Linked DNA regions of Homo sapiens: regions 2, 3, 4 and 5 are each linked to region 1. The links are contacts of gene promoters, found by promoter capture Hi-C in blood cells and fetal thymus (Javierre and others, 2016). All regions are on one chromosome and are shown on one strand. Each heading gives the region's core, a stretch centred on a gene start or on the middle of the fragment in contact. The rest is flanking DNA. Distances are from core to core; before and after follow the strand shown.

The links. The method cuts DNA at HindIII sites, captures the fragments that hold promoters and counts their contacts. A CHiCAGO score of 5 or more calls a contact.
Region 2: a fragment that was not itself captured here is called in contact with the fragment with the promoter of EOMES in region 1 in 5 of 17 cell types (total CD8 T cells, total CD4 T cells, non-activated CD4 T cells and 2 more); the score reaches 6.2 in total CD8 T cells.
Region 3: a contact is called between a fragment that was not itself captured here and the fragment with the promoter of EOMES in region 1, in 16 of 17 cell types (total CD4 T cells, naive CD8 T cells, non-activated CD4 T cells and 13 more). The highest score is 44.8, in total CD4 T cells.
Region 4: a fragment that was not itself captured here is called in contact with the fragment with the promoter of EOMES in region 1 in 1 of 17 cell types (neutrophils); the score reaches 5.4 in neutrophils.
Region 5: a contact is called between a fragment that was not itself captured here and the fragment with the promoter of EOMES in region 1, in 16 of 17 cell types (total CD4 T cells, naive CD8 T cells, total CD8 T cells and 13 more). The highest score is 35.3, in total CD4 T cells.

The regions. Positions count from the first base shown.
Region 1 is chr3:27,720,310-27,725,437 of GRCh38, reverse strand. EOMES (eomesodermin) reads left to right here and starts at 3,115. Exons shown (of 6, transcript NM_001278182.2): 1 at 3,115-4,024; 2 at 5,113-5,128. The coding sequence starts at 3,144. RefSeq lists an enhancer at 60-934 and a silencer at 3,480-3,689. The HindIII fragment of the contact is 2,734 bases long and covers 2,134-4,867 here.
Region 2 is chr3:28,380,805-28,385,932 of GRCh38, reverse strand. The region is part of intron 1 of ZCWPW2 (zinc finger CW-type and PWWP domain containing 2); the gene reads right to left. Among named protein-coding and RNA genes, the nearest start is that of AZI2, 35 kb to the right of the region's middle. The HindIII fragment of the contact is 1,769 bases long and covers 1,508-3,276 here.
Region 3 is chr3:28,302,851-28,307,978 of GRCh38, reverse strand. The region is part of intron 2 of CMC1 (C-X9-C motif containing 1); the gene reads right to left. Among named protein-coding and RNA genes, the nearest start is that of ZCWPW2, 43 kb to the left of the region's middle. The HindIII fragment of the contact is 4,434 bases long and covers 1-4,146 here.
Region 4 is chr3:27,175,659-27,180,786 of GRCh38, reverse strand. All of the region lies in intron 26 of NEK10 (NIMA related kinase 10), which reads left to right. Among named protein-coding and RNA genes, the nearest start is that of NEK10, 190 kb to the left of the region's middle. The HindIII fragment of the contact is 5,135 bases long and covers 1-4,686 here.
Region 5 is chr3:28,264,700-28,269,827 of GRCh38, reverse strand. All of the region lies in intron 2 of CMC1 (C-X9-C motif containing 1), which reads right to left. Among named protein-coding and RNA genes, the nearest start is that of CMC1, 26 kb to the right of the region's middle. The HindIII fragment of the contact is 2,067 bases long and covers 2,160-4,226 here.

The sequences.
Region 1 (5,128 bases), core at 1,866-4,365:
CACAGACTTGCTCATCTATAACTCTCCAGGCATTCTAGACTAGTATATTCTAAATGTAATAATAATAATAATAATGTGATTAGCTAATTAACACAGAGGAACCATTAAATGAGATTTTTTATCTTCAGCCAGAAAAAAAAAGATCTGTAGCTGAAACAGTGCTTTTCATTATTTTAAAGAGAATTTGTAACATATACTTACAAATGTAATGTAATACAATATGTAATATAATATTATGTACATATTTTCCATGTTCCAAAAATCCTGGGTCCTAGAGTAGTTTTATAGAAACTGAATTTTTATTCTCTTTGAATTTGTCTTTGCTCCTCCATATGTAAAATGTGTTGAAGTTTGGGAAAAATAATAGATTTACTGGGGAAGTGGGTAGATATCAACCAAAATTTCCTGTCCCCAAGAATCAATACAAATTCTAATTATATACATCGTGTGTATATTTAATAATTAGGTGGTGCTCATACTGAACTCATGCGCTTTCAAAAGCTTGCTCTGGGGCTGGAATAAAATCAACGCTTTCTGATGTGGCTCGGGGGACAGCTGGCCCGCGTTATTCGCGCCAGAGTGGGTCGGAACGATGCCTGTTGCCTGCGATGGCACTTTGCCACGCGAAGCGCTTCCCTGGCTGCGTCAAAAGCATTTTGAAGGGACGCCGAGGCCCGCTTCTTGCTTTGTTAAAGCGCAAAACTGTCATGTACCTTTGGCCACCCTAGCTCCAAATAACGTGAGATTAGGTCTCACATTAGGGAGATTTCTCATCCCTACTTTTGCCTTAGATATCTTGCAACTCAGGTAAAGGATAATGTGGAGGATCCTACGAATAGTAATCAGGACCCGCTAGCCCAGGGATAGATACGTCGTCCAAGCCGCCCAAGCTGCACGGCCTCTTTCTTTCCTTGAGCTCGCGTACCCCTCACGGGATCTTCACGTTGACAGTCATGAGGTATTCACAGAGCTATACTACTTGAACAATCAATGTTCTAGACTTCCTTGGGTCAAAATAACACTAAAGCAGGGGAGGAAGGCATGGACAATGTAGTGATCAAAACAGCCGTGCCAAACACTAACTATACTGATGACACAAAACGCAGGAAGCGCAGGGCAGAACGCGCTCAGTACCAGCTTTCTGGCGATCTGCTCCTGGCCACTCTGTCCCAGGACCTACAAGGCCACCGCCCCAGCCCACTAGTCTCAACTTGCCCCCTCCCCTGTGGCTGTGCCTTGACCCTGAAAATCTTCGCGCACTCCTGGGTTTCACCACCACACACACGCGAGCGCGCGAGCGCGCGAACACACACATCAAAAAAGAAAAAAAAAACCGTGATAAATGCCCTGGAGAGTCTAAGTGCATTAAGGACCTCGTTCTCGGAGACCCCAGACATGCCGATGTTGGTGCTGCTGTGGTTGGAAAACTGGGTTGGAAAGCTTCGCACTGTTCTACACTTGCGTGTGCGCACTCAGCAATCCTTTGGCCATCTCATCTGTTGTGGGCGAAGAGTTTCCCGTGTGATCGCGTTCGGTTGGGGAAGCAGAGTCCCGACATCTCAGCCGGAAAATGCGCTCCCGGAGCGATTACTGGCGGCGTCTGTAATTGCTTATTAACAGCGAATATTCAGGCTTCTCCTTATCCGCAACGAAACGTGCCCCCCGCTTCCGTAATAATGAAACGATAAAATATGACGGCCCCGCTCTTGAATCTATCTGAGGAAACGCAGCGAAGAAACAAGCAGCTGGAGTTTAATTCAATATCAAACTGATTATTTCACTAATTATTCTACCTTCTGTATTTGCCGCAGAGCAGAGGCGCAGGGAATCCTAACTGTGGGGCTGTTAGGGAAGCTTTGTTTCTTGGTGTCAGGCCTAACTGAAGATGGTGGTGAAGGGACGGAATCCGGGATCAGGAAAACTGAGCAGAAAGGATTTTAAATTGTGGGGAATAAAAGTGACTGTCTCCCCGAAAGCAGTTGTGTTGGCGTGAGTATGAAGTTGGTGTTAGCTCGCTTAGTTTCACTCTTGTCCTGTCCCCAGTACCCTGTCCAAGCTTCTGATTTAGAAGCTGAGAGCTTAGGTCCTCCAGGATGGCAATGTGCTCTGGCCGTCCCCGGAATCCCAAAAGCTTAGCGCGAGTTTCCTCTCTACAAACCTTTCCCACTGGGTAAAAGGATGGGAACAAACAAAAAGTGGTTCTGTGCGTTGAAGGCCAGGGAGTTTGCCTTCGACAAGAGGAAGGTGTGCTTTGAAGTTACAGCTTCCGACGAGGAAAGAGACTTCCTTGGGCCTGTCTCCAACTTGCCCCAGTTTCCCCAGCCTCCGGGACGGGCGCTTCCCTGCAAGCTATCAGCTTGAAGAGTCTTTCTCTCTCTGGCCTCTAAAATCTGCTCCAGCCATCTCATTCCTCCAGCGGAGGGCTGAGATGACTAATGCGCCAAGGGTGGACACCGCTATGGAGACCCCAAACTTTGTCCCCCTAAATTCCGGCGAAATTACAGACACCAGGATTGATTATCACAGCGGGACGCAGTCTCAAAAAAAAAAAAAAAAAAAAAAAAAAAAAAAGGAAAAGAAAGTCACAGGCGACTTGATCCAATTAGTAAATGCCTAATTGAATTAGTGTCACCTCCACCAGCCAATAGGAGGGTCTCCGGGCTGTGAGGCCGGGAAGCCCCTCCCTGGCCGCAAATATATAAAGCAGCTAGTGACAGCCCATAAGTTTCCAAGTGGTCAACTTGACCGATGCTTTGGCAATTGAAAAAGGGCAGAAAGGCGCGGGCTAGTGGGTGGATGGGGACAAAGATCTAAGTCACCTTCTTCCAGCGTGTGAGCCTGGGAGGAGGGTGGGGGTCCTGAGGAGCAAGAGGTACGAGGAAGGAAAAGGAGAGGGCTTCTGGGTTAGTTTCCACCTCCTGCTTTCCAACTCACGGCGCTTTCCTTCCGGAAAGGACGCTGGATTCAGGGCGCGCCAGTACGCGCAGTAGCGGCCCGCGAGTCGGCAGGTGGGTAGCCCCGGCGCGGGAGGAAGGGGAAGTTACCTTCCCCTCGGAAGAGGGCGCTGGCTCCCCCATCCTGCCTTTATAATAAGGCCACCGGAGGAGAGGAAGCAGCCAGCTGCCGTCTGCGCTTTGCAAAGCATGCAGTTAGGGGAGCAGCTCTTGGTGAGCTCAGTGAACCTGCCTGGCGCGCACTTCTACCCGCTGGAGAGTGCGCGAGGCGGCAGCGGCGGGAGCGCTGGCCACCTCCCCAGCGCGGCCCCCTCTCCTCAGAAGTTGGACTTAGACAAAGCGTCCAAGAAGTTTTCCGGCAGTCTCTCCTGCGAGGCGGTGAGCGGGGAGCCCGCAGCCGCCAGCGCAGGGGCCCCCGCGGCCATGCTTAGTGACACCGACGCCGGGGACGCATTTGCCAGCGCTGCGGCAGTGGCCAAGCCGGGGCCCCCGGACGGCCGCAAGGGCTCCCCCTGCGGGGAGGAGGAGCTGCCCTCCGCCGCTGCAGCCGCCGCCGCCGCCGCCGCCGCGGCTGCGGCCACTGCGCGCTACTCCATGGACAGCCTGAGCTCCGAGCGGTACTACCTCCAGTCCCCCGGTCCTCAGGGGTCGGAGCTGGCTGCGCCCTGCTCACTCTTCCCGTACCAGGCGGCGGCTGGGGCGCCCCACGGACCTGTGTACCCGGCTCCTAACGGGGCGCGCTACCCCTACGGCTCCATGCTGCCCCCCGGCGGCTTCCCCGCGGCTGTGTGCCCACCCGGGAGGGCGCAGTTCGGCCCAGGAGCCGGTGCGGGCAGTGGCGCGGGCGGTAGCAGCGGCGGGGGCGGCGGCCCGGGCACCTATCAGTACAGCCAGGGGGCTCCGCTCTACGGGCCGTACCCTGGAGCCGCAGCGGCGGGATCTTGCGGAGGACTGGGGGGCCTGGGGGTTCCAGGTTCTGGCTTCCGTGCCCACGTCTACCTGTGCAACCGGCCTCTGTGGCTCAAATTCCACCGCCACCAAACTGAGATGATCATTACGAAACAGGGCAGGTGAGCGCAGCGTGGAGGGGCCCCTGGGTTCGGGGATAAAGGGTGACGTGTGGTCCTGGGGAAGGTCCGGGATGAGGGAGCTGAACCCAGTTGTTCCGCGCGGTGCTTAGAGTGTTTCACCGCGCGCAATAAATCTCCGTAGACACCGCATCTCCAATGCGGTGTCCCTCTGTGTCAGTGCCCCGGCGGCTCTTGCAGGGTGCCAATGTTACGGCTGTACACCGCTTTTCCCTCCCATCATCCTCACCTGAACAGACCTGGAGGAGGCGGAAATGGAAATTAGGGCATGTCCACAAGCTGGATTCGTTAGATCCTCCTGCTCGGCGGTATGCTTGTGCATGCCTGCATGCCGGCAAGGAGCCACGGATAGGGAAGGCTCAAGAGCTGGCCACCTGAGCGCAGTAGATGGGCTCCCGCAGTTTTAGGCGCCAGGGTCTCCACGGGGCGTCTCCGGGAGGTGGGCATGAAGGCTAGAGCGCCGGCCTCGGAAGCTCGGTCGGAGTAGGTGGTTAGATCTGCCCTGGAGCCAGACCTGGCTCGGGTTCGGTGCGCGAGAAAGTTCTGATATACATCCAACTGCTAACACTGGCTACTTCTGGGGAAAGGGAGGGGTGGGTGCTGAGAGAGGGGCACTCAAAGGGGACTTTTAGCCTAAAGTTTTAATATATATTTTTAACAAGAATAACCTAATATTGTTCTCTGGTACTTTTCAAAATGGTGCATTTAAAAATTAGTAGTTTTTAACATTCTAGGAGAAAAATTTTAAGAGCGTCTGAAAGGGCCGAGAATATGAGCCTTCGGAAGCACGCGCGAATTTGGAATATACCGATGTTGGGGCAAGCTTTTTTTTTTTTTTTTTTTTTTTTTTTTTTTTTTTTTTTTGAAAAGACGGAAAGGTTCCAAGAGTTGCCAACTCAAAAATATTTTACATAGTTTCAGACCACTTGATCTACCAGCATTCTGTTCACTGCAAACTTTTAAATGTGTTCCGACCCTATCCCAGGTGTCTGGGGAACCCGCTGGGGCCTGGGCCTGTTCTAGGACATCCCAATTAAAATCGATTTTTCTGATTCTATTCCCTTGCACAGGCGCATGTTTCCTTTC
Region 2 (5,128 bases), core at 1,143-3,642, 660 kb before region 1:
AGCTTAAAAGCCAGATAAAGAGAGTGTAAGAAACAAGAAAATAAAAGGTTACGTTAATCTCACTTAGGAAAGTAGATTTTTAAAATCCTAACTAAAACAGTAAATCAAATCTGTTAGAATATTAAGAGAAAAAATTCACCATGGCCAAATAGGTAATAAGAGTAAGAATCAATTAATCCAAGAATGGTCCCCTGCAGGCTAGCCTCCCAAAGATATGATGTCCTACAAAGCTCCATAGAAACTAACTATGGCCCAGAGCCTACAGCAATCAATTTTGGTCAACCACAATGTTTGGATGCCACTGTCACCTTCAACCCTTATCATGCCAGAGAAGGAGCTGGTGCTAGTCTAATCATGTGTACTGATATGGTCAATCCTACTCTTATCTTGCACTATCTTAAAGCTGTAACCATAAGGCCTGGATGCAGTTGGGCTGGGACATCTCGTCAACCTTGAATATCCATGCTTTCAGAATAGTGCTGGAATAAAAGTTCTTCCACATCATACTGTATTCTGGCACCTGATCATGCCAGGGGATGAGGTGGTATTTCTCTAATTATTAATTAAAAGCTATACAGGCCAACAGTCAAGATCCCTCTAATGGAACTTCTCATATGGCCTTTAAAAATTGCTATGCACTGTCTGCTTCAGAGTGGGATGGTGTCACAGAGACTCACACTTTGAGCTATTGACCCCTGTCCCTTTGAGCTTTCTCCAGTAAATTAAATACTGTTTCAACAGGTCTGATATGTGCAGGTCTTGACTACTTGTCTTGTTTTCACGACATGCCACATTATGGATTAAAGAAGGAAAACCATATGATCATCTTAATATGTCCCCCAAAAGCATGAGAAATTCAACATCTATTTGTGATTCTTACAATAAAAAATAAAGTTTAATCTTAACCTAGCACCACTTATAAACATAAATTCTAGACTGACAAAACAGTATAAAATATGTATAATATTGAAGTAGAAATGTATGTAAAACACAAAAGTCATAAAAGAAAGATTGGCTGGCCGGGCACGGTGGCTCACGCCTGTAATCCCAACACTTTGGGAGGCCAAGGCGGGTGGATCACTTGAGGTCAGGAGTTCGAGACCAGCCTGGCCAACATGGTAAAACCCCGTCTCTACTAAAAATATAAAAAAATTAGCCGGCCGTGGAAATGGGTGCCTGTAATCCCAGCTTACTCAGGAGGCTGAGGCGGAAGAATTGCTTGAACCCAGGAGATGGAGGTTGCAGTGAGCCAACATGGTCCCACTGCACTCCAGCCTGGGTGACAGAGTGAGACACCGTCTCAAAAAAAAAAAAAAAAGAAAGAAAGATTGGTCAACTTGAATGTGTCAAGATTAAATCTTCTGTGTAACTAAAGGTACACTGAAAAATTAAAACCATAAAGTAAATTGAAAGGCAAGTAACCAGAATGAAATATTTTCAGTATACAGACACATGAATTAATACCCAGAATACATAGTCTGAAGTGAATGTACTCAGTAGAAAAGCTTCAGGAAAGCAGGGAAGCCGTAAGGTTGCTTTTCTTGTTTTTAGAATATTTTTAAAAAATTTTCTAGTAAGACTAATTTTATTTAGTATAAAAGCAAAAGTTTGACAAGCAGTATTTAATAACATAAAAAGTACAAAACAGATTTGTGATTTCTAACATATTAATACAAAGTGTATAAATACATATAACATATTCCATGGGTAGAGAAAGATGAAAGCAAGGAAAGAAGACTGTGGTTGGGTCTAGTAACAAATAAATAAACACAGAAGTAGAGATAATCCACATTATAGTATATTCTACTATTAATACCAGCAGAAATGTATTACCCAAATTTAAAATATGGAGGAAAATGATAATGGCTAGGGCTCTAGTAATATACCTCTAAAGCTGTGGGAGAGCCCAGGAAATTCACTACATGGTCTGTGTATATGGTGGTATGGAGCATATTGATTTTTTCTAAAAGGAAGAAATATTAAATTTTAAGTTTAGATGAATAATTATAAAATTACAGGGTACCCATACCATCCAATTTTTTAAAAATCCAGTTTTAAAAGTAAGCATTGAGTCACATTTTTATAAAATAGGCAAATGTTCTTCATTCATTATAAAAAGTGTGAACTGACTTTTTTCCCCTGAACTTTCAGAAAAGTGGCAAAAAGAGTACTTTGGTTTAGGTTCATGTGAGGGAGGCTTTTAATGAAAATTTTAGAATTGAAGAGGTCCACGTTCAGAATTCATTAATCACCTAACATCCCAATATTTAGAATGTCTTGACTTAAAAAGGCCACCCAAAATCCAGCCCACTCAGCTTTAACACACACCTCTTATCTTCTAGATTTTTTTTTTTACTTATAAAGTAGAAAAAAAAATATACCCTAATAGGTTAAACACACCAAATGCCCATTTTACACAGGTAAAACCTTCATAAAGGCTAATTGAATCCATAGCTAAAACTGCATTGTGCAGGTTTTCAGTGACATTGTCAGTCACATAATACAAATAAAATAGTTAACTATTTATATCCATGATAAGCCCACGGATAACAAGAAATGTAATCCAAGAAGCATTAACCTTTGCTTTGTGTCATATTTAAGACTTGCATGTTTTATTTTTCCAATATGTAACATTTAATAGAGTGTATTAGCTACTATGTGGTAATGCTTTGGTACTATTTGCATAGGTTCTTTCATCCTAAACATTTGCCATTTTCCCAAAAGGAACTGTGGTTCTGCTTTAGATGTCTTATATAAATTAAACACCTTATTGAGTATTAATATTGGGGAGATGACACAGGATGCAACATAGACAGTCAAGTTACCTCTGTATATTTAGGAATTACCCTCTCCTTCAAGGTATTTGCACTAGAAAGCTAAGTCTGCCCTGATTAATATTTCAATAGTACAGGGTTGAGTGATCAAAACCTTGGCAAAACCTTAATTCAGAATTGTTAACAAATACTGCTAGTGTCAATTCCATGTGATTTCATTATTATAAATTTATTATTATGAGGCAAAACAAGTATAGCCCGTCATCGTTGAAAATGCTTCAACTATTACTTCTTAATGTGGAAAGACTGAAACTAACATTTGTTTTACCATACAATTAATATAATATCTATGTACCCTGAAATTTCCTTAATTTTACTCATTAGGACAGGATTTTGAAAGACTTAAGGGCACTTTACAGAAGGATCCAGCTTTCCTATCAAAGACTCAGTATCTTAAATATTATATGTACCTTTTTTCTCTTTTATTAAACTAGATTAAGCTTTAGAGTTTGTGAAAATGGAGAAAATAACCAATAAAAGGATTCTATAAATTGTCTTTGGCACAATAGTAAGTATTCAAAACAAAAGCAAGAAAACCACTATTATCAGCTGAATTGTTTGCCCTCCTCTCCAAAAAAATTCACATGTTAAAGTTCTAATCTCCAGTAACTCAGAATATTACTCTACTTGGAGTTAGGGTCTTTAAAGAGGTAATTAAATTTAATGAGGTAATTAGGGTGAGCCTTAATCCAATATGTCTAGTGTCCTTGGAAGAAGAGGAAATTTGGACACAGACACATACAGAGGAAAGACTATGTGAGGACAGGGAGAAGATGGCCATCTACAAGCCAAAAAGAGAGGTCTGAAACAGATCCTTCCCTCATAGCTCTCAGAAGGGACCCATCCTGTCAACAGGGTTGATCTCAGACTTGATCTCAGGCTTCTAGCTTCCAGAATTGTGAGAAAATAAATTTCTCTTTTTTTTTTTTTTTTTTTGAGATGCAGTTTGACTCTTCTTGCCCAGGCTGGAATGCACTAGTGCAATCTCAGCTCACTGCAACCTCCACCTCCCAGGTTCAAGCGATTCTCCCGCCTCAGCCTCCCGAGTAGATGGGATTACAGGCATGCACCAACACACCCAGCTAATTTTGTATTTTTAGTAGAGATGGGGCTTCTCCATGTTGGTCTGGATGGTCTCGAACTCCTGACCTCAGGTGATCCGCCCACCTTGGCCTCCTATTGCTGGGATTAGAGGTGTGAACCACCACGCCTGGCCAAATTTCTGTTCTTTAAGCCAGCCAATCTGTTGTACTTTGTTACAGAAGTCCTAGCAAATTAATACAGCCACTTTATTGTTCCAAAATTTTGTTTTTGAGATAAGGGTTCTCTCTGTTGCCCAGGCCTGGGTGCAGTGGTGGGATCATAGCTCACTGCAGCCTCGAACTCCTGGACTCATGCAATCCTCCCACTCAGCCTCCTGACTAGCTAGGAGTACAGCCGTGTGCCACCATGCTCATCTAATTTATTTTATTTTTAGTAAAGACATAGTCTCACTGTGTCACCCAGGCTGGTGGTGTTCTAACATTCACATACGCAGTTGACCCTTGAATAACATAGGTTTGAACTGCATGGGTCCACTTACATGCAGACTTTCTTCCACCTTCATCATCCCTGAAACAGCAAAACCAACCCTCAGCCTACTCAACATAAAGACAGTAAGGACGAAGACCTTCATGATGATCCAGTTCCACTTAATAAATAGTAAATATATTTTCTCTTATGATTTTCTTGGTAACATTTTCTTTTTTCTAGGTTTATTGTAAGAATACAGTATACAACAGATATAACATACAAAGTATGTGTTAATTAACTGTTTATGTTATTGTTAAGGGTTTCAGTCAACAATAGGCTACTGGTGAAGTTTTTAGGGAGGCAAGCAATTCCTGCATAGTTTGGAACTTTGAGGAGGACAAATGAGTAAGGAATTTTATTTTCTATTAAATGAAGTACTTCCCCATCTGCCATCCTTTCAAGAGAATTCAGTAAAGACTTAAATTAATAATTGTTTTACTTTTCTGTATATATATATATATATATATATATATATACACCAAATATATATATATATATATACCAAATATATATATATATATATATACCAAATATATATATATATATATATACCAAATATATATATATATATATATATATATATATATATATACCAAATATATATATATTTGGTAAAGTTCAACAAAGTATATATATTTTAAACATAGCACATTATTAGGTAGAGAATAGACTTGTGGAAAAAGATAATGTTTTGGCCTTGGGTGGGAACAGAGCTTTGAAAA
Region 3 (5,128 bases), core at 680-3,179, 580 kb before region 1:
GAGATTCTATCTTGCTGGCTTTAAAGATGGAAAAAAGAGAATACTTGCATCTTTGCTGAAAAAGGCAAGGAAACAGACTTTCCCCTAGAGGCTCCAGAAACAAACACAGCTCTGCTAACACCTTGATTTTAGCCCAGTGAGACCTGTCACACTTGAGAACTACGGAACTATGATACAATGAATTTGTATTGTCTTAATAAAGCTACTAAGTTTGTATAATTTGTTACAATAGCAATAGAAAACTAATATACTACCACAGTGGGGGGAAAAACTGGCTAAAAGATGTTTTGCAATTATTAGATGAATTAGAAGAATGCAAAGAAACCAAGAGCAGCACTCTAGACTTTAACGAAGATGATGAAATTGATCATATAAGCACATAATCATATTGACTATAAGTCTTCAGGTGACAGTATCCCAGATGAATTTTCTCAAAATCAGGAACTGATGCGTGAATAATACTTTTTTTCTTGTCACCCAGGCTGGGCGCTGGTTAGATCATAGCTCTCTGTAGCCTTGAACTCTGGGCTCAAGTGATCCTCCCACCTCAGCCTCCCGAGTAGCTAGGACTACAGGTGTGCAGCACCACACCTAGCTAATTTTTTTTATTTATTTTTCCTAGAGACAAGGTCTTGCTATATTGCACAGGCTGGTCTTGAACTCCTAGCCTCAAACAATTCTCTTGACTTGGCCTGAATAATACATTTTTAAGGACAAAAAGGAAATATAGTATTCTCATCCCATTAGACATTTAACAGGAGTGATTTTTCATGAAGTATAATGTAACAAAAACTTGTATCCCATTGTGCTAAAAACAGGGCAACGCAGTACTCTTTCATCTTTTATGATATCTGTGTGTTGAAATGTACTTGATCCAAATGCTAAAGACAGATATATTTAAAAGGTGATTAAAAGGAAATAGTATTTGTAAATCTAAAAGTGAAAATGTTTTAAAACTATGGAGCCAAAAAGATGGCCATCTTAACTTCAACAAAATTATGAGTCATTGGTGTTTTTAAAAATATTTCATTTTGGCTGGGCATGGTGGCTCACACCTGTAATCCCAGCACTCTGGGAGGCCGAGGTGGGCGGATCACCTGAGGTCAGGATTGGAGACCAGCCTGGCCAACACATGACAAAACCCTGTCTCTACTAAAAGTACAAAAATTAGCCATGTGTGGTGACAGGTGCCTGTAATTCCAGCTACTCAGGAGGCTGAGGCAGGAGAATTGCTTGAACCCAGGAGGCTGAGGTTGCAGTGAGCTGAGATCATGCCACTGCACTCCAGCCTGGGTGACAAGAGCAAGACTCTGTCTCAAAAAAAAAAAAAAAAATTCTTCATTTTAAAGATGTAAGTAGTTCACCAACAATTATTATATATTTAGAAAATGCTAAAGATTCCTCTAAAAGACTACTGCATTGATAAATGACATCAGTAAAGTTTCAGGACACAAAATCAACATGCAAAAATCATCATTTCTATACACCAGTAACGTTCAAGCTGAGAACCACATTAATAACTCAATCCCATTTACAATAGCCACACACACACACAAATACCTAGGTAGACATCTGGCCAAGGAGGTGAAAGAGCTCTACGAGAACTCCAAAATACTGCTGAAAGAAATCACAGATGAAACAAATGAAAAAACAACCCATGCTCATGGATTGAAAGTGTCAATGTCATTAAAATGCCCATAATGCACAAAGCAATCTATAGATTCAATGCTATTCCTATCAAATTACCAATGTCATTTTTCACAGAATTGGAAAAAACTATCCTAAAATTTATATGCAACCAAAAAAGAGCCCAAATAGCCAAAGTAATCCTAAACAAAAAGAACAAAGCTGGAAGCATCACATTACCCAACTTTAAAATATACTACAAGGCTATCATAACCAAAATAGCATGGGACCAGTACAAAAATAGGCACACAGAACAATGGAACAGAACAGAGAACCTGGAAATAAAGCTGCATACCTACAACCAACTGATTTTCAACAAAGTAAATAAAAATAAACACTGGGGAGAGGATACTTTATTCAATAAATGGTGCTGGGGAAACTGGCTAGCCATGTGCAAAAGAATGAAACTCCATCTCTACCTCTCACCATATACAAAAATTAACTCAAGATCGCTGAAAGACTTAAACGTAAGACCTCAAACTAAAAAAAAAAAAAAAAAAAAAAAAAAAAAAATTCCTATGAAAAACTCTTCTGGACACTGGCCTAGGCAAAAAATTTATGACTAAGATCTCAAAAGCAAATGAAACAAAAAGAAGATTGACAATTGGGACCTAATTAAACTAAAGAGCTTCTGCCCTGCAAAAGAAACCATCAACAGGGTAAACAGACAACCTAGAGAAAAGGAGAAAATACTTGCAAACTATGCATCCAACAAAGGACTAAGAGATGTTGTTGAGGATGTGGAGAAAGGGAATGCTTATAAACAGAATGTAAATTAGTTCAATCCCTGTGGAAAGCAGTTTGGAGATTTCTAAAAGAACTAAAAACAGAACTGGATAATCCCACTACTGGATAGCTGCCCAAAGGAAAAGAAATAATTCTACCAAAAAGACACTTGCCCTTGTATGTTTATTGCGGCACTACTCACAACAGCAAAGTTATGGAATCAACCTAAGTGTCCATCAACAGTGGAATGGAGAAAGAAAATGTGGTACATATATATCATAGAATACTACACAGCCATAAAAACGAAAACACATCCTTTGCAGCAACATAGATTTAGCTGGAGGCCATTATCCTAAGTGGATTAACAGAGAAATAGACAAATACCGCATGTTGTCACTTACAAGTAGGAGCTAAACAATGGGTATGCAGGGACAAAAAGATATAAATTATAGATACTGGGGAGTCCAAAATGGGAGGGAAGGAGGAAGGACAACGGCTGAAAAACTACCTATTGGTTACTATGATCACTGTTTGGGTGACGGTTCAATAGACGCCCAAACCACTGCATTATACAATATACTCATGTAACAAACCTGCACATGTACCCCTCAAATCTAAAGTAAAAAGAAAATACATTTTAAAGATTAATGGTAAACTAGAACCTATTAGAGCTATATGGAGTCAGAATCTTTAAAATAGATTATGTTCCAGGTTCATGATAAGCAGTTAGTGGCAATCAAAGGACATAAACCATTCCAAGTTATAAAACTTTCAGAACAAGTAAAATAGGGAATAAAAATTGGGGCTTGCTATGTTTAAATTCTTATTATACTTTCTAAAGTCATTGTCTTCATTCTTCTATAAATTATTTGAATACAACTTTAAAATATAAAAACTAACAAAATGTATCCATCAGATGACTATCTTTTCTGGGAAAGTTTGGGTCAAGGAAGGAATAATCATTATTGTCAAATGCTGTTGAGACGTCTACTAAGATGAGTGAAAATCACCCAACAGTTTTTATGTTAAAATTTTAAGCGATACTGTCCAGAAATACCTTAGATTCACATAATTCCAGTGAGGGGATTAGAACAGATAAAAATCCTTACTTCTTATGTGTGATGCATTAAACATAGCTTTTATTTTCAATTCTCTAGGACAGTTAGTTCCTTATATCCATATTCACAGGTTTCAGGGATTATGACTGAGACATCTTTGGGGACTATTATTCTACCTAACATAGGCAGAAAATGAAAAAAAAAATCCAGTGACAAAAGGAATATAAAATATCTCATTAAAAATTTTTATATTGGCTGCATGTTAAAAAGATATTATTTTTGATATATTAGGTTAAATAAGATGTATTTTTTTAAGAGACAGGGTCTCACTATGTTGCCCAAGCTGAATGTGGCTAATGCGACTGCATAACTAAATTTTTCATTTTAATTAAAATAGCCATGTATGTCTAATGGTGACCATGTTGGACAACATAGCTAAAGACATTTTTAGTTCCTTATACTTCAGGTGAGATGCAAACAGGTGGCTGATGATGATTTGGCTACTGTTTTATGATTTATAACTTATGATCATTCTAGGCTTAGTTATCTTCCATATCTTTCCTTGGAACATATTTTCTTATCCACTGATCCTTTTTAAGCCTATTAAAATACCTAATCAAAATAAAATATTTAAGAAAATAAAGACTAAGGTAAAAAATAATCATTCAGCAAAGCTTACTTGCTTAGCTTATATTTGTTCAATAAATATTTGTGCATTTGTATATAAATGAATAACTGTAAATATTCATATATATTTATCGAACAAATAGCTGAATAAGTGAATTAATTGAAGGAGTGTTAATAATTCTCATTTTCTACCAGCTTTTAGTTGATTTAACTCACTCTAATATTTTAAAATATGTTGCTAAATAATCTCTGCCATTACTGTTATCTAACTTCTTTGACAAAGATCAAAATTTCCAACATTGTACTTTATCATGACTATCTCTTCAGTTTAGTAAAGGCTGTACTCAGCATTTATTCATAAACAAAATTCAAAAAAACAGTAACAAAACTTCGGGGTTTCATAGCAAAATTAAAAAGTTTCAGGAGGATACTGAGATTCATTATCTCAGTTGATTAGAATATAAGTTTGAGATTAAAATGTGATTCTTACAAGAAGCAGTTAAAACACTAGGAACATACATGATGGAAAACCAAAATTCAAGAATACATTAATAATGTTGAATAGAAACTGTCTTATTTCAGGTGGCCTTTTTCTTGTTTTTCCATTTTCCCATGACAACTTCCTAATCATTTTTTGCAAGGTAGTTAATAATGTCAGTAGTAATAGCAATAAAAACATGAAAATGGCAACTAAGATAAACTGAGTGTTTACTCTGTACCAGGCACTACTATACTAGGTACTTTATGCGTGTTAGCTCACTTGAATTGTACAAAAACACGATCAAGTAAGCACTATTTTTATCTTCATTTGCCAGATGAATAAAATGAACTTTAAATAGGCTACATCATATTTCCAAGATTAGTGTGGCATACATAGATTGGTTTAGAACCAGGTCTTTTAACTTCAGAAACGTTATCTGTAATTACTATTGGATCTCACTTATTCCTTTCCAGAACACATGAAAAACTCCTACGCTTGGCAGAAATTTCCATGCCCACGCAATAGAGACTTAACCCAGGCCAGGTATCTC
Region 4 (5,128 bases), core at 870-3,369, 540 kb after region 1:
GCCAAGCAAAAGACAATGGTGACTCTTTTTCTTGACTTTTAATTCTTTCTCTACTGGCAATTAATCAGTTTGGAATTTTGACAACATGTGCAAAATGTGCAGTTTAACAAGAACTAGACCTTTCCTTATGTAACTCTGTGTTAAAAATGAAACAGTCAATGAGGTTCTAATTTGGTGTTTCATTCCTGTTGATAACCACTCATTTCTAATTCCATACTCTTTAATTCCTTAAGCATTGGTAAATTTCAATGACATTGTTTTTTTGAGAAACAAAAAATTTCTTAAAACTTGCCCACTTGATTGTTCTCTGTACATTGTTCCTTCCCTTCCCTTCCCTTCCCCTCCCTTCCCCTCCCCTCCCCTCCCCTTCCCTTCCCTTGTCTTTCTTTTTTGAGATACAGTCTCACTCTGTCACCCAGGATGGAGTGCAGTGGTGTGATCTTGGCTCACTGCAACCTCCACCTCCCATGTTCAAGTGATTCTCCTGCCTTCGCCTCCTCAATAGCTGAGATTATAGGCACGCACCACCATGCCTGTCTAATTTTTATATTTTTAGTAGAGATGGGGTTTCACTATTTGGCCAGGCTGGTCTCAAACTCCTGACCTCAAATGATCGGTCCACTTTTGGCCTCCCAAAGTGCTGGGATTAAAGGCATGAGCCACCATGCCTGGCCCATTGTTTCTTTCTTTTTTTCTTTTTTTTCTTGAGACAGAGTCTTGCTCTGTTGCCCAGGCTGGAGTGCAGTAGTATGATCTCAGCTCACTGCAACCTCCGCCTCCCAGGTTTAAGCAATTCTCGTGCTTCAGCCTTGCGAGTACCTGGGATTACAGGTGCCTGCCACCATGTCTGGCTAATTTTTGTATTTTTAGTAGAGACCAGGTTTCACCTTGTTGGCCAGACTGGTCTCAAACTCCTGACCTCAGGTGATCTGTCTGCCTCAGCCTCCTGAAGTGCTAGGATTACAGGTGTGAACCACCACGCCCAGCCCCCATTGTTTCTTTTAAATGTTAAATAGAATTACCTGATCCTGGCCTCATTTGAAATGCTTTTAAATATATTGGTATATACATTTAGTTCTATTGGCATGTTAGTCTGCTGTCTTGGAAAAACATGGTGGTCAGTATTGTTGTGATGGACCAGATCTTCTGTATTCTTAACAAATGATAATTTCAGATTATGACATTGTTTTCCTTCTCCTCTTTGTTAGTATTATTCCTTCTAGAAAACCTGTATTTGAGTTAAAAGTGATAGAAAATCCACTCATTTCTGATACAGTACTAGGTTAGTTATGGGATAACAGTGAAACATTTTTAACCATAATAAATTTGATACTGGAGTTTTAGATTGAATTGTAATGACCAATTTATTCCCTAATTTATTTAATTTAATCACAGCTCATTAATATGTAATAGTGCTTTTAAGACGTTCTAATTAAGATAGTATAATAATGAGATAATAACTATGTCATGACAGTAAAATTTTTAGCTTTGTGTAAATATTTAATAAGTTCAAAATAAATAAGATCCAACCTAAAGAGAATATTTTCTTTATTATATAATCCATATAAATTAGTTATTTTTAGGGCCCCAAAACACCAGTTTTTCTGGTTTAGATTTAACTATTGCTCTCTTAACTGTATGTAGAGAATGGGAGAAGGGAAATTCTTCAAGATTCCCTGATGAAAATAGACGATGTTACCATCCAAACCATTTTGGGAAAGCTGGACACAGTGGTGTGCCTCTGTATTTCCAGCTACTCAGAAGACCGAGGCAGGATGATCCCTTAAACCCGGAGGTTCAAGAACAGCCTGGGCAACATAGTGAGAACCTATTTCTAAAAAACAAACAAAAACTAACTTTCAGGATCAAAGATTAAAGATTTCCATCTACCACTGGGTAGGGGGTGGGACCAGGCTCCAGGCTTATTCCATCAGCCCACCTCTCTGATGTGGCAAAGCCAAGTCTTCCATAGGGAGGCCTGGAGAAAAGGTTCCTATCTCACCACTACAGTGAGCAGTTCACTCAGCTATGGTCTAGTCCACAAGGTTCCTTAATCATCTGACCACACTGGCTGATTTTTAAAAATATACCTTAAAATGTAGGGACTAAGTTTATTTACAATAGTATGCAGTCAATGGCCTGTCTCCTAGTTTGAATTTTCTTTGTGCAATCATCCATGAAAAGCATAGAATGCGGTGCCACTGATAAAAGATCACCTCAGCTGGATGAATTTCTAGCACCTGGTAGCACTAAATTGAGATATTTAAGGGTACAGTTTATTAACAAAACAGATGGAAGAAACTGGGTAAAAATATACCTAATAGAATATGAATATTTCAGAACACAAAGAAATAGTGCATTTTTTAGAGTTCTAAAGTAAAGCATCTATAGGATATAGCTGTTGTTATGCTTTATATTTATTTCTTGATTTTCTTTCTCTCCTAAAACTTTCTGGCAATTTTAAAAATTGCACTGATTTTAATAAAATAGATGCCCTTAATTTTCCTACTGTAGCAGTTAATTTGGGTAATGTCAGTCTGTTACTGTTAGAATTGCTATTCAACTGAAAATGTATTATGATCTGCTGCACACATAAAAATATTACATTATAATGCGCAAAACCGAGCTAAACATAATTGTGCCAATACTAGCGTGGTGACAGGAAGCATCTTCTATAATGGTGCTGATTTCCATATCAGTGATAATTTTATTGTGTGATTTGCGTTGTATTCTCCTTGCCGCCGTATTGATATCCGGAATGTGTCTATCCATTCCTAGGATAGATGCATGCAGATGCCAAAAAAACTAGTTAACTCCCTCTCCTACTCCTTGAAAAATCTTAGTAATTAGAAAGTGAAAAAGATTATAGCAGCCAAATTCTGTCTCCAAAAACTTTGCCTTTTTTCTTGCCTAAATCCCTTTAATAGGTTAATGTACTTGCTGGATGTGTCTTCTGAGGACAACTTAATGGCTCAACTATTTATTGAGCCTTTGCTATGTGTAAGGCATTGTGCAAAGCACTAAAGGATTTAAAATGGACTAAAGTGCCCCCAGTTCTTCAAGGAACAATTTTATAAAGAGTTGGATACTCAAATACTCACAGTGAAAAACTCCAGAAATCACAGTAGGGAAAATGTGTGGCATATGGTTTATGGCAAGGTCAAAAATTATATCAATTTTTTTTTGAAGCAAAAACTGCTGCAAGGGATTGTTATAGAAATATATATATATTTTTTTTTTTGAGACAAGAGTCTTGCTCTGTCACCCAGGCTGGAGTGCAGTGGCACAATCTCGGCTCACTGCAAGCTCCGCCTCCTGGGATCATGCCATTCTCCTCCTTCAGCCTCCCGAGTAGCTGGGACTACAGGCGCCCACCACCATGCCCGGCTAATTTTTTTGTATTTTTTAGTAGAGACAGGGTTTCACTGTGTTAGCCAGGATGATCTTGATCTCCTGACCTCGTGATCCACCTGCCTCAGCCTCCCAAAGTGCTGGAATTGCAGGAGTGAGCCACCATGCCTGGCCTAGAAATACAAATTTTAAACCCAAACTATCCATCTATATTATCATATTTTTATGCATACAGAGTCTGAAAAAGCATCTCTCTCAGATTGTAAATTCCCCTTTATCAGAATTTATGCAAACAGTCAATTACCCGTGGATGAAATTTTGGCAGTTACAAGTGACTATTGATTTATGACCCAATTGGTTCTTGGGTTTTGATTGCAAGTCCAGCGTCCTTAAGTCTCGAATTGCCTTTTTCAGCGGGGACTCCAGCTTCTCCTGACTCTTCATTTGTTCAAAGAAAAATGTTTTCCTCTGATGTTTTATCCATGCCTGTTCTTAAGAGACACAAAGCCTTTGTTAAAGTTTTACTAGTTTTAGGGATATTTGAATTCCAGCATCTTAATTGCATCGACAGAATAAAAAGTTTTCTCAATTCAAAAATTCTCCTTCATCTTTTTTCAACCTTGGTAATGTTGACACATCTTGGGTGTAAAGTCCTGAAAAGGTTGCAGATGCCAGCTGTGGTCTTCAGGATAGGGTAGAAGATGATTTACTTAGAATAAAAAAGGTCATAAGAAGGAAAAGGCCTTGAATTGGGTTTTTACTTCTGTGTAAATTTCTAATGACTTCAGTTGAGGATAGTTAGAGGAAGAAGGGTTTTGTGGTTTGGGACGAAGAAAAGAGGTAGGCATGGAAGAAGTTGAGTTGGTTTTGCAATAAAGTTTTGAGCCTTAGAAAGAGCTCCTGGATTTGGTATCAGGGGTTGAGTGTGGCAGAGCTGAGGCTGGACTTAGAAGCCCGATACTAGCCTTAGGCATTGGAAAAATTTCTGAGTAGCATATATCTTTTGCCAGAGAGCGGCCAAAGCATTTCCTGTCTCAGGTTGTAAGTTAGCCAACCAGGGTGGACCTCAGAAGCAGAAATTAACAACTCAGAGTCATAAAACAGCCTTTGAACATTGGATGTACTAATTATGGAAAATCAAAGTTAAAATACTTCTTCACCTGCAAATTAACTTCAACAAAACAAGGAGCTTGGTGAAACTTTGAAGAATCACTGAAAAGAATCTCAGGGAAAAGAAATAAACAGCAATTGATCAGACAGTTTGCAATGCACAAATGTTTTTTGTATTTTAAAAATCTTTTCATCTTACCTATAGAACATAAATATATGAAAGCTTTTAGAGGTTTATTTCTGATTCTAGTTATCCCTAAGATCTTAGGTTTTCTTCATCTGCAAATTCTATTATTATGGAGTTTTTAGAAACCTGTGCCTTGGAGCTGTGTCATTTTACTGTAGGAAAAAAATAAAAAACACATAAATCTGAAATAAATAAGGCTGTCTCTGAAATGAGCATCATTGGAGCCTTTTTAGTCAAGAAGTGCTAGGTAATTTGTGACTAAATCATCTTGGACACAATTCATAGAGGGAATTCTTTCCCCTTCAATAAATGCACCTTTTTCTTTCTTCTCACACTCTCTGCCTGTTATCCTTTCCTCCATCACAGCCTTTCTTTGTCTTTTTGTCTACCTGATCTGTAGCTTTACTTTGCCAGCACTGTTTAGCCCCACGGCCTAAAAAGGCTCTTCACGCTTGCTGCGAATAGTCCCATACAATGAAC
Region 5 (5,128 bases), core at 1,944-4,443, 540 kb before region 1:
TTGGGAGGCCAAGGCAGGCAGATCACCTGAGGTCAGGAGTTTGAGACCAGACTGGCCAACATGGCGAAACCCCATCTCTACTAAAAATACAAACATTAGCGAGGCGTCATGGCGTGCGCCTGTAGTCCCAGTTACTTGGGAGGCTGAGGCAGGGGAATCACTTGAACCCAGGAGGCAGTGGTTGCAGTGAGCTGAGATTGCGCCACTACCCTCCAGCTTAGGCAACAGAGAGAGACTCGGTTTCAAAGAAAAAAAAAAAAAGAAACCTAGGTAATGGGTTGATGGGTTGATAGGTGCAGCAAACCACCATGGCACAAGTTTACCTATGTAACAAACCTGCACATCCTGCACATGTATCCCAGAACTTAAAGTAAAGTTTCATTTATTTCTAAAACCAAAATATACTGCATCTTCCTCTGTGAGAAGAAAACTAGCCATTTTATTCAAGGGTATTTATGTCCAACTACATATAATTTTATTGCAAAACTGTCCTGTTTTCAGAAACAAGATAATCATAATAAGCTATTGAGTCTGATAATGAGCATATGAGCTAACACATACAATTGAGAACCACTGGATCAGTAAGTAATAACCATTATACAGTAGTCCCCTGTTATGCATGGGGGATACGTTCTAAGCCCCCTAGTGGATGCCTGACACTGCAGATACTACCAAATCCTATGTATACTATGTTTATTTCCTCTACATACATACCCCTGATAAAATTTGATTTATAAATTAGGCATAGTATGAGATTAACAACAACTAATAAAATAGAATGTTTGTAACAATAAAAGTTAAGTGAATATGGTCTCTCTCAAAATATCTTATTGTACTATAAATATCTTATTATACTAACCCTTCTTATGATGATGATATGAAATGATAAAACTAGAACCTCAGTTGACCACAGGTAATTGAAACCATGGAAAGTGAAACCACAAATAAGAAGGACTGCTATATACTTTGTTCAGTTATTTTTAAAATAATTCAGCTGTATTTATGATTGATATAAGCCTATTACTCATGATTCCATTGGCATAACACCAGGCATGATAGGCATACACAAATAGTTACTGCTAAGTAACTTTTATTATGTCCATGTGCAGAAAAGAGTTAACATAGCAGGCATGACACTGCTATCCTTAAAAGGCTTGCTTGCAAGATTGGCCCTTAGGTGGCATCGGAGAACTCGGATCTTGGGAGTGTCCCCATTTCGTAATTGATAAGAGTGGCTCACTGTGCCCAAACTGTTTGTACAAACAATATGATTTATGCTGAACACCTGCTTTCCTTCTGGGAATCTGAAATTTTGGTACATGTTAGGCAGAGGGTTCCCAAATGTTTTATTGAGAACAAATTCTCAATAAAAATTCTGGGGACTGAGTCTCTAATGAGCCTCCCTGGTAGACAACATTTCACATGTGTTGTCACAATACAGTGCTGGAGAAATTAAGCACACCCTGAGTGACTCTACCAGGAGAAGACTCATGGAGCTTGTGCCACGGTTTCTTCTGAACTTTCCCATATGCCTTTTCCCTTTGTTGATTTTGCTTTGTATCTTTTTGCTGTAATAACCTTTAGCTATGAATAGGATTATATGCTGAGTCCTGTCAGTCTTCCTAGTGAATCAACCAATCCAATGGTGATTGGGAACCCATGAGATAGTTCAGTGTAAGTCCAAAGTGCAGAAACTGTGCCTTATATCTACTTGTATTTCTTAGACTGTATAATATACTCATATATAACAGCTATTCATCATATGCGGTGATTATTTTCCTTTTAGTATATCAAAACCAGTCTCAAGATGTGTTGCATATCCACTTCAGCATTAGTTAATACTGGTGCACTGGTTAATGACAAAAATACATGTAATAAGAGTGGTACACCTCAAACAACAAATAAAAAGGCAGATTTTTGGCAGCTTCAAGTAACACAGTTGGACAGAAGAGTGATTACTTTGACCATGTATATAGTCTGCAGCCCTGCAACCTATTTCAATGCTGTTCTGATAATTACCTGCCTGTAAACTTCCTAAAGAACATTCTAAGCATTCTTGACTTGATTGTTTTTTGTTCATTCACTTATCTTTGGAATTTCACAAAATACAACATACTTCAGTTCTGTGTGATTGACAGAAGAGCGCATTTTATCAAGCTTCTTTGTTATTTACCTACAGCTCTGTGATGTTTCAAACAAACAAATAACCCATGCTTCCTTGTACTTTATGTAATTCTTTCAGAGCTATATCCCACTTATTGGACAACAGATCATAAAGACTGCAACATAAATACAAAAGAAACATTAAAATAAGGGAAAAGAGGGCCCAAGGGATGAAAGGAGTCAGTAAGAGAATACAGCTAGGTTAAAGAAAGTTCCAGCCCATCCCTGATGACAAAATACTTTTCTGTCTTTACCTGTGATAGCAAAAGGAAAAAAGAGAAAGGGCTGTTATTATTTCTAAAGCAAACGTCATTATCCAATATAGAGACTTTATAGCAAATGTCAACTATGCACTTCAAAAAAAGCAAAGAAATATAATGAGGAATTTTTACAAAACACTATACAATTCAGTGACTCTTCCTCTTATGGAGAAAAATGTATTAATACTAGTATGCACACTTTACCTATATACGGCAAACAATATTTTTTAAATATTACTAACAGAAAACATAAATCATTTAATTAGTGAAGTCAAACAGCTAGAAAAAGACAAAAGTTGAAATCCAGAGTTTGTCAAACCATCTCCCTAAGACACAAGGTGCTAACTCCTAGATCCAAGAAAAAGCAATGATTTCATCATTACAGTTGGTGGGAGGTTACTGTTTTGGCTTTTGGAAGGTGAGGAAAGTGGGAGGAAGTAAGAAAGCGATTTGGCCATTCTAGGGTTTTCCTTCAGTTCCATTCCCAATGTACTCAGTGTTCACTGTGTTAATATCTACCAGTATACTTCAGTCATTTATTTTAGCGGCTTTATTCACCACCAACAATATCACTAGCAAAGAAAGAATACTATAAAATTAAATTTTATATTTAAATCAATTAATTTTTCTTTTGATATCAACAGAGTTTATAATCTTGTCAAAGTTTCCCCAATAGCAAGATCAGGATTCTCCTTTGTAATCAAATCAAAGTTCAAAAAGGAAAGGTGCTAAGCACTATTCTTCTCTTCAAAAAGAAACATAGGTTGAGCGCAGTAGTCCACGCCTGCAATCCCAGCACTTTGGGAGGCCAAGGTGGGAGACTTGTTTGAGCCCAGGAGTTGGTGACCAGTCTGCACAACATAGTGAGACTCCATTTCAAAGAAAAAGGAAAAAAAAAAACCATATACTTTTGTGTTTATTTTACATTATTAAAAATATATTTTATAAAGACCAAGATTCAAGAGTTGACACCATTTAAATAATATGAACACTATTTGTCACCCAAAAGCTAAAATTTTTTTGTATTACGTTATAGTTTTCATTATACTGAAATGGCATAGTTACTGGAACTTATACAAATTCACTGTAGAATTAGAATCATGTAATTCCAGATTAAAATTAAATTTTAGAAGTATAAGGGTATATAATGATGAAACATTCTAAATGTTATCTATTGCTTAAGACAAATTTTAACTGTATTTAAACATTAGGTGAAATATGCAACTCAGACTAATTCAGTGTACATTAAGTAAAAACCAATGGTGTATAGATAAAGAGGGTATCATGTAAGCTGGTTAAAAAATTAAAATGAAGACAGAACTAGTAAGAATATAGCAACCTGGCTGAAATTGATATTCATTAGGGTACTCCTCACATCAATAGGTAACATTTGGACTCTGTGGGCTTTATCAGTGTCCCAGCTGGTAATGGTTGAAGGTTAATGCCTTACCCAATTCTGTTCAATTTTCTATCCTAATTAGCCCTGCAAATCTATAGCTGTGAGCACCAAGTGTCTGTGCTCAAAAGAAACTAATTAATGCTAGCAAATTAGATCAAGTCCAAAGATCCAACAGCCAAACTCTTAGTTAAATGCTCCTTGTTAATAGGAAGTGTAGCTGTCAATAACTGCTGTTGGTGACTATAATGAGGCATCTTTCTTTCATTGAAAGTGATTTCATTTCTCTTTGTCCATGGAAAAGCTGTTCCATTCCCTTCACAAACCTAAGTTGCTGGCAGTCTGACCCAATTCTTATGATCAGCTGGGTTGAAATGACATTAAAAAAAAAATCTAACGGAAAAGCTTTCCTACATAATCATGTTTTAGGCATTTAGCAGAAAGTCAGATCACTTATTAAAATTCCTGTATCTTTTATCTAAGAACCATACAATTGGCATATATAATGCTTTTATATAAAATCCTATAATTATTTAATAAAGCAAAAGCTATAAACAGTAAATAAACTACAATGGAAATGTCCCGATTCTAAATTATGTATAACTGTTGAGTTTAAATGAAGTTTTCTTCTGCTGCTTGAATAATTCTAATGTATATGATTTCCTAATTTATATGGTTAGAAAATACTAAAGACTTCTTATTCTCTTATCAATTTTAGATTCTAAAATATTGTTTTGAATCACATGGCCTAAAAAATCAATACATAATTATCTATAAGATATTCAAATTATATTATTACATTCTAATATAGATGAATACATTTAAATAATCCAAATGAGTCACAGATTTTAAGATGCTTTCAGTCTTCAGAAACCGTAAGTATATTAAAACAGCAAAAACTTAACTACGTCAACATCCTAAACAACTTAACTTTTGATGAAGTGAAAATTAAACACTTTATTTTCTGTACCATTATAAAACACTAGTTTTGTAACACAAATAAATATTTTAAAGTTATACTCTACGCTTTCATTTCAAAAACCAAAAATAAAACTCAAAGTCATACAATCATTCTGCATTTTCCTTGGAATTATGTCAGTAAAAATTAAATCTGTAATTGAGTTAGCTAGCTTTCTTTCATTCTAGGTATAAAGACAATATGCTACATGACAGCACACATACAACTTATATGTGTAACTTTAGACTGATATATCAGTAATAAGTAAATTTTCCTAGCAGTAAAAAGCCCTACAACTTTATTATAGGGTTTTTAAGTTTTATCTCCCCTCACCTGAATCAGGATATATAT